Linked DNA regions of Homo sapiens: regions 1 and 2 are each linked to region 3. Evidence: promoter capture Hi-C in 16 types of primary human blood cells and fetal thymus (Javierre and others, 2016). All regions are on one chromosome and are shown on one strand. Each heading gives the region's core, a stretch centred on a gene start or on the middle of the fragment in contact. The rest is flanking DNA. Distances are from core to core; before and after follow the strand shown. Region 1 has its middle 4.2 kb from the start of TEKT1. Region 2 has its middle 24 kb from the start of TEKT1. Region 3 holds the start of BCL6B (BCL6B transcription repressor).

Evidence for each region. Contacts are between HindIII fragments. The CHiCAGO score rates a contact against its expected background, and 5 or more counts as called.
Region 1: a fragment that was not itself captured here is called in contact with the fragment with the promoter of BCL6B in region 3 in 1 of 17 cell types (megakaryocytes); the score reaches 5.7 in megakaryocytes.
Region 2: a fragment that was not itself captured here is called in contact with the fragment with the promoter of BCL6B in region 3 in 1 of 17 cell types (erythroblasts); the score reaches 5.1 in erythroblasts.

The regions. Positions count from the first base shown.
Region 1 is chr17:6,834,366-6,837,404 of GRCh38, reverse strand. No RefSeq gene overlaps it. Among named protein-coding and RNA genes, the nearest start is that of TEKT1, 4.2 kb to the right of the region's middle. The HindIII fragment of the contact is 980 bases long and covers 955-1,934 here.
Region 2 is chr17:6,854,082-6,856,781 of GRCh38, reverse strand. It overlaps the pseudogene ALOX12P2. Among named protein-coding and RNA genes, the nearest start is that of TEKT1, 24 kb to the right of the region's middle. RefSeq lists an enhancer at 1,805-2,700. The HindIII fragment of the contact is 549 bases long and covers 1,166-1,714 here.
Region 3 is chr17:7,021,655-7,024,354 of GRCh38, reverse strand. BCL6B (BCL6B transcription repressor) reads right to left here and starts at 1,305. Exons shown (of 9, transcript NM_181844.4): 1 at 1,256-1,305; 2 at 505-695; 3 at 51-272. The coding sequence starts at 683. RefSeq lists a silencer at 2,212-2,351. The HindIII fragment of the contact is 4,378 bases long and covers 1-2,700 here.

The DNA of each region.
Region 1 (3,039 bases), core at 195-2,694, 190 kb after region 3:
CAATACTGGTCTAGAACTAATTTTAATAATAATAAAATAAAATTCAATTATTATTTTTGCAAAGGTAGTACATACATGTGTATGGTTCAAAGTGTAAAAGACACAAAAGGGTATTCAGTGAAAAGTCTCCTTCTACCACTCTCCCTGGACACCTAGTTTGCTTCACAGTCAGCCAAGGTCACCAGTTTCTTGTGTATCCTTCCAGAAATATTTATGCATTTACAAGCAAATATGTATATATGTTTTCTTCCTCCCCTCTTATTTATAGAAATATTTTTGAGGACAAAATAGATAATATCAACCTTTCTGCTTCAGCTACTCAGGAGGCTGAGGCAGGAGGATCACATTGATTTTTTATTGTTTTTCACTGAAAATTATCCTTTAGAGGTCATTTCGTTTGGCTACAAAAGGTCCTTCCTCATTCTTTTGTAGCTTCATGGTTTCCAATGGTAAGGATGTGCCATAATTTGTTTAGCAAGACACCTACTGATGGGCATGTAAGTTGCTTCTAGTCTTTTCCTATTACCAGCGATGCTGAAATGAATAACATTGTGCATGCAGGTGTCATTTTAAAGCCATCTCACCATTTCTTTCTTGCTTACTTTTGATTATATTTGGTCTTGTTTTTGGAGTACTTGGTAAAACCCTGAATATGTTCAACATTTGGTTTGGTTGCCTACAAAGCAGCCAAGAGCAAGCCTTCTAAGCCTGAACGAGTAGATACATATTCCCTGAGTGTCTCCAAAGCAAAAACCTTAGACCCTGAAAACAAAATAGTTTCATAAAAGTTACTCCAGTAATTTTTTGAGATGAGGCACTGCTCATCATCCTCAAATTCAAATTGCCAAAGCAGTCAAGATCCTGTTGTGATTCAAGAGCCCAGACTTCCAGACGTAGGAGACAGCCTGGAAACAAGGCTTCTGCTCAGGACCTTGTTGGCTGGGTGAAGAAGCTTACAGGAGAGCCCGTGGAGGCAGATGGGGTGCTCAAAGGATCACCCACATGGCTGGTTTTTCTTTAAGGAGAACCATACAGCAAGTGATGAAGGGCAGGAAATGGCCACTTTGCTCAAACTCCTGGAGGCAAATAGGAACAAGACTTAAGAAAGGTCTAGTCAAGCCTCCAACGTTACACATTGAAAAGATCATTATGCACTACCTTGAAAAGGACTAACCTGTCTCTTAGGAGCGTGTGAGTCAATATAGTGCTCCGACAATGGGTATAGTGGTTAGCATTGCAGGCTCTAGGGTCAGGTAATTAAAATCCGCCCCCTCCTTTTTTTTAACCATTTAGTAGCTGTAAGTAACTTCTTTGTGCCTCCTGTCTTCTAAAAAATTGGGTCATTAATCATAGCTCTCCTAAAGGGCTGTGTGTAGATTAAATGGGATAATATCTCCCAAGCACAGTGCCTGGCACATAATACATGCTTGATAAATGGTGGTTGTGGTGATCATTCGAGAAACAGGAAGCATTTCACCACTTAATTCTATACAAGAAGCTACTTTAAAATATCGTGACGACTTCTAGAAATCAATACATGTTGCACATATTCTTGACTATCTTGTTTCTAGCCTCAGGATTTTGATTTATTTTGTACTGTGGTGTCAATTACAGAGAAAAGCCACCTTCTAGAAATGAGAAATGGGGACCCTGAATGGAGCCTTGCTTGTGAACTGTGCCGGGACATCCTGGTGTGTGCCATACAGTCCTGTAATTGATCAGTGTCTTATGAATCTTTCCCATTTTTTTATTCCTTGTTGATTTGCTGTGAACACCTGAAAGAAAGATGGTGGAGAACATCTCTTCATCCTTACTGGCAGTGAAAATCTGTTATTTCAAAGGGGAAGCACATGCTTTATATCCTTTTATTCCCCTAAGGGCCTCTTAAAAGCACATCACAGTTATTTGGTAGGTTAAAATTCCAATGAAAAGCTTTTAAGTTATCATGTTTGTTAATTGCTAATTTGGGGTTAGCGTCATACAACAGGGGACTAAGTCCCCGCTACAGACGCAGAACACTAGGGTCTTGAATGCCCAGCTTCGCACAATGGCCTGTGATATTGATACTTATTATAAGGAATAGCAAGAATAAAGGGCTAGTGGTTTCTTATCAATGAACTCACTGCTCCACAGTGAAACCTAAGATGGAAAACAATTCACATCTTACCAATACCATTATATGAAGGGAGTCTTTTCCCCCCAATCTAGGTGCAGTTCAGTGGGGAAGTTGACACAGATCCCAATACTACTGGCAATGCTACCAAAACAGAGGTCAAGGGTCACAGTGGCCACTGTATGACAGTTAAATAAGAAGTGAATAAGATCTGATGTTTGGGTAGCACTTTTGCATCCATAAAATACTCAGGATAGCATGACAGATTTATCGAGGATGGGAAACCTGAGGCTTGTCCGTGGTGAGATCCAGGCTGGAAGCCAGTCTTCAGGCCCCTGGCTAAGTGTGTCGTCTCCTAGACATACTGCCTCTGTTCATCTCCCTCTGAATTCTTCTGGTTTCAAAATAACTAGTTAGCTCTGTCTCAACGCTTTCACACCTCCTGCTCTTCTATCGGCTGCCGTATTTGTGTCATTCATTTACTGAAATCATTTATTATAAAGAGTTTCTGCATTTTTATATTCTTTTAAAAGAGATAATAATTGTACAACTCTCAAAAGGCAAAAGATTATTCAGTGAAGCCTCCTTTACCCTCCACACCCCAGCCATCCAGTTCTCTTTCCAGAGGCAACCAGTGTTACCAGTTTCTTATGTATCTGTCTGGAGAAATTCTAGGGGTACACAAACAATTACATTTTACCATTTTCTATCATAACAATGGTAAAATACTATATATGTAATTCTTCTGAACCTTGCTTTTTTCATTTAATATATCTCGTTGGTCACTCCATATCAAAGAGATGTAAAAAAGATTTCTAATTATATATTTTACAGTAAAAAATACTCTATGACTGTTTCATAATTTATTTAATCAGTCTCCTCTTGGTGGACATTTGGGATATGTAAATTTTTTTCTATTAAGAACA
Region 2 (2,700 bases), core at 191-2,690, 170 kb after region 3:
TTTGATAATTTATTGGCAGATACTCGATACCTTTTGGATGATCTGACTTAAAAGGGACATTGTTTTCAAGAGACAAAATATAATTTCACTATCCTTAGTTTTCCTATTTTCAGTTTCACTCTCTAAAACATGACATCTCCTGTAAGGGAAAAACTTTGTCTCCAGATGTATGAAAAGCATCCTTAATTACACTTTATCTAAAACAATGAGACAACTCCTGGACTTTCTCAGACTGGTTGGCTATTGTAGAATGTGGATTCCTTGTCTGAACCCCTAGAACGAGAATTAACCTCTATAACAGTATTGGATCCTTTTAAAAACCTCCCTTTCCTCTTCCCCCAGCTTGGGACTCCCCAACTACTCCTTGCCCTTCTGCCTATTCATTCATGAGAGAGAACATACTTTAGATGTCCTGTCTCAGAAATACAAAAGGAGCCTGAGGCCCATTGGATATTTTACCTTCTTGCTAGGCCCTATAGCTCAAGCCTTCCTTCCTTGCTTCTGAGTTGTCATGGCAACAGCAAATTTGATTCAAGCCACAGTTGATTTTGTGCTAGGTCATACTTCGCACACTTCTGTGCCCAAGTGGTTCACATCTTTGTCCTGACTGCGAACCCCCAACGTTTTTCAACCTCTAACCTTACCTCTTATGAGATCCTTTTGTTTGCTCCTTCTCACATTACTATTCACCATTACCAAAATCTTAACCTTGTTACCATTTCTCTCCCAACTGAAGTACAACCACCATGACTGTATTTCAGCCACCTAAGCTCTAACCTTTCCCCGTCCTGATCTTTCTGAAGTACCTCTTATAGATCCAGATCTCATTTTCTTTGTTGATAGTTCATACCTCTGACTTCAGAAAGAGGTTTCCAGGCTGAATATGCCATTGCATATATCCACAGTCCCATAACATATGAGGCTTTACCCAGTGCAAATTATATCAGATAGAATAATTTGTGGCTCTCACAAGAACCTACACTTTAGCTAAGAATCAAAGAGTTAACATCAACACAGATAACAGATATGTTTTTAGGGTATTACATGACTTTGACCTGTTGTGGAAAGCCAGGGAATTTGTGACTACTAGTTTAAAATGGGAAATGTGGGTAACCTCCTAGAGGCCTTATTATTACAAGAGCTGGCCATACTCAAGATAGAAGCTTATATGGGCAATAGACCCCTAAGGCAAGGGGAAGCTCAGCTGATAAGTATGCTAAGTAGCAGTTTATAAATCTGTCCCAGTCCCACTGTAATCAGACCAGATATTAAACCTACTCAGTTTGCCAATTTATCCTCTATTTGAGGACATTAAAATATCTCAGTTAAAGGCCCCTGAAGATGAAAAGGCTAATTGAAAACAAGGTGGATGTTTTACCCACCAAAAAGTCCAAAGATAGGCTTTGAAGACACTGAGAAGGCTACTTGGGCTCTCCTTCGTCCCTGACCTGAAGTTCAGTCTTCACAAAATTTTTCATCATGGGAAAATACTGACTCAATGCCTTCATCATCATTTGTGGGGAAACTTCACTCCTTACTTGGAATATCTGCCAACAACAGAATCCTGGAAAAGTTATAAAGGTAGAACGAGGAAGAGAGCCACCTCTAGCAGGACTCTTTCTCTATTGGCAAAGATATTTTATTCAACTTCCTAAGTCAGTGTTATTAATATGCCCTGGCCATTGTTTTTATGTTCACTTATTGACTAGAAGCTTTTCCACGTAAGAAGCCCACAGCTGCAACTGTTTGTTCTCTTAGAACAAATTTTCCCCTCCTGAGGAATTCTACTTGCCCTGTCAAGTGACCAGGGAACTCATCGCACCAGTAAAGTCATCCAAAAAAATCCAAGAGTTCTTCCTCTGTCCCCCAAATTACATGATCCTCACCATATCCAGTCATGCAGAATGATTGAACAAGCAAACAGACAAAACTAAAATTTTCAAAACGTTCTGAGGTGAGGCCAGGTGTGGTGGCTCATTCCTGTAATCCCAGAACTTTGGGAGGCTAAGGCAGGAGGATTACTTGAGACCAGCCTGGACAACTTAGTGAGACCGCATCTCTAGAGTAAAAATACATATTTATATTTTTAAAACTTTCAGAGAACTCAACCTTCCATGGCCCAAGGTCTTTCCCTTGGTCCTAATTGCTCTCTAGCCTTTCCTTGTTAGACCACACCTGCCCCCTCAAAAAACAATTACTAGCAGAACTATGAGAATTCCCTACTCTATAAGGGCAACAGAAGACTCCAGTGAAGTTAATTCAGACATGATTTCAGAATTCAACCTTGAATGCATGTCTCACAACTTAAAAAGTACAGGAGTTACTTACAATAAAAATCTACTTCACCTGGAGATCTTAAACCGGGGCTCTCCAGGATTATGGCTGCCTCTGCTGAGTCATGCAGGTTGTCAGAGAAGCAGGGGAAAGCCGGCAGTCACAGGCCTCCCCCAGATCCCACGCACACCGAAGGGCTGGTCTCACTCCCACCGTGTCCCCTGCAACACCTCTGAGTCTGTTTCCAGACAGAGGACGGGCTTGAAAACTTGCCCGAGGCTTTCCGCCTCCCACCTGTGAAAGAAAAGGGCTTTAGTTCTTCCCCCACCTGTGAAGTCTGCAAGCCAGATCCGCATCCTCCCCCAAGTTCCGGCCAGGAGGCTTCTCGCCCCACTCAAATTGTTACAAAATTCAGCTAGGGAAGTC
Region 3 (2,700 bases), core at 56-2,555:
TTTGCCCTTAACACCTCACCCACAGAGAACGCCGAGCCAGGGTCCCTCACCTGGCCTGGATGAAGCGGTGGCATGCCTGGACCACGTGCTCCATCTGCAAATAGGTGGCGGCCGCTAGGACTGCTGGTGCAGTGGCTGGAGAGAGGCGCAGGCGCGAAGTGTACATGAAGTCCAATAGAGGGGCGAAGCCTCTCGCTTCGGGACCCCCGGGCAGAGAGAGCACGTCCACCCCGACTCCCGCACGGCCCCGGAAAATTGAATAGAAGAAGCCACTAGAGAGAGAGCAGATAAGTCCTTTGGGGGCTGGGGAACCAAGGGAGACATGCGCAGCTTCAGGAAGCCCCGCCCCCTGAAAAAGTCCCGCCTCCTCACTATCACCCCGCCCCCAATTCTGGGACGCTCCGCCTCCTGCTTCTGAAAGACTTGGCTTCGGATTCCCTCTCAACGGCCCTGTGGTCCCACCCCTTTCCCATTTGGCCCCGCCCCAGGCCCCACCCCTCGAACCTGCAGGCGATGAGAACTGCCTTGTGTGCTCTGAGGGGTTGCCCGCCAACCAGCAGCGTGACGTCAGTGAGGATCCCGCGCAGGCGCAGCTCGTTGAGGTTGCCCAGCACGTCGGAGGAGTGGCGAGTGAACTCGCGGACGTAGCCCAGCGCTCCCTCCGGGGCGGCGGGGGAACCCATAGCGACACAGGCCTGTAGAGGCCGTGGAAAGTGCTCTGGATCCAGGCAGTCCTAAGACGCCTTCCCTCCTCTGTTTGCCTTTTCCTTCCGAGGTGCAACTAGAGCCAGGACTTCCAGCCCCTAGCCCCGGCACACGCAGCCTCCCTCCTAATTCTTCTTGTTCATTCTGCCCTCTACGACACCCTCGCTCCCTTGCCTCTTCCAGATCCCACAGCGCTTGGAGCCAGTTGAAGGTTCCACACCGCGGCGTCGTTGGCGAGCGTGGGGAATCCCGCGCCCATCGCCCTGGGTTCGACCCCCAGTGCCCCTCCAGCACCGCCACTCCCCTCTGCGCGCCTGTGTCTCAGGTGTCCAACCCTGCCTCGAGATCTCACGGCCTGCCGTCCACACACCTCCAAATCCCAGCCGAGGCTCCCTTCCCCGAACTACGGAATTCTGCGACTCCTATCTAGTCCCCAATCCCTAGTTTAGCCCAATTTCTGGGACTCAGGCTCGCTGATGGCAAGCTCCACACAAGCTCCTACCCTCTTGGGGGACCCAGGAGTCTGGCTCCCTCAGTCTCTTGTTCTTACCCCCGTCCTGCAGGGGCCGCGGCTTCTCTTCTTAAGGGGGGCGGGGTCTCTCTCCCCTCTTGGCCTCGGCTCCTTTATCTGGCCGGGATGTCGGGGGCGGGGGTGGAGGTGGGGTGAACGCCTGGGTCTGTATCCTTCCTTCCTCCCTCGCTCTCCAGATGGCGAGTCCAGGGCGGGGTCTCCGTCTCGAGGGCGGGACCTCAGAAACAAGGGGTGGTCGTAACGTAGGGGGTCTTGGGTCACTGCAAGTGGACACGAGGACGGGGATATTGGAATTGGGGAGGAGGTTAGGGATATCGAGGTTGGCAATACGGGAGTCTGAGTCGTCGGAAGGCCTGGGCCAGTGAAAATTGGTGTGTTGGCTTTTGGGAGGGTTTGCCAGGAGCCAACCTTTGCTGCAGGACAAAGTGCATACGGCAACCCCCTCTCCCTCTCTTGTACTGTGTTAAGGGAGAAAAGGGGGAGCCCAACGAGACAGCAGGTTTGGGCAGACGACAGTGGGCTCCCGTAGGGTCTCAGACGGGGAGGGTGTGGTGTGAATGACAGGCTACTCTACCCGGGCCTACAAAAAGGGGGGCTCTGGCCGGGCGGGGTACGGAGAGGGCGGATATGATTTCTAGTTGGTTTCCTTCCATTGTCCTGCGACCGGACGGCTCCGCCAGCTGCTTCCCCTCGAGGAGGTGGGGAAAGCCCCGAGGTGGGGGTGGAGGGGCGAGAGACGCTCGGGAGACCTAGGCGTCCGGCCTCTCTCGCTCCCGACTCTCTTCTGGGTCCTTGTAGGGATCCAGAGAGATGGACTCCCGCCCAAAGCCCGCTTGCTTTCCCCCAATCCCAGCTCACGAGGGCCTCGGGCACCCGCCCGTCGGCTACGCTTGGAGGCTGGCGGGACGCCGGGGTCCAGCGCGGCAAGTAGGCAAGGCTCGGCAATGTGCGGCTCCTTCCACGAGGGGGCGGCCGAGCACTGGCCTCGCCTCGCCCCTCGTCTCCACCCGGCCTGGGGTGCGCTCAGACCCGGGCGCAGGATCCATTTGGTCTGGGCGGCTGAAACCTTTAGCCTCCTCCCCTTTGCGCGGGTTTATTTTGCACCTCTGTCTCCTAGGAGGGGACTAGGGCTGGGCGGAGGGAGCTAGAGTTAGGAGACCGAGGGGACTTTCCCCTCAGGCTGGGGTTCCTACCCGAGGTGAGAAATCGCGGGCTTTAGGAGCCAGGGGAATGGGTGGGACAAGAAGCGGGACCTGAGCCTGGGAACTCCGGGTTTTCTTTTCGAATTAAGCTAGACACTGCTACCCAGATGTCTTTGGAGGTGACTTTTAATTGAACATTAAAATTGGGTGGGGTAAACGAGAAGGGAAAACAAGGAGGAGGGAGAGAGGGCAGGAGGGGGCTTAACCACCCTAATTTGAAGTCCCTGATCTGAGAGATGGGCATGGATCACACCCTCATAT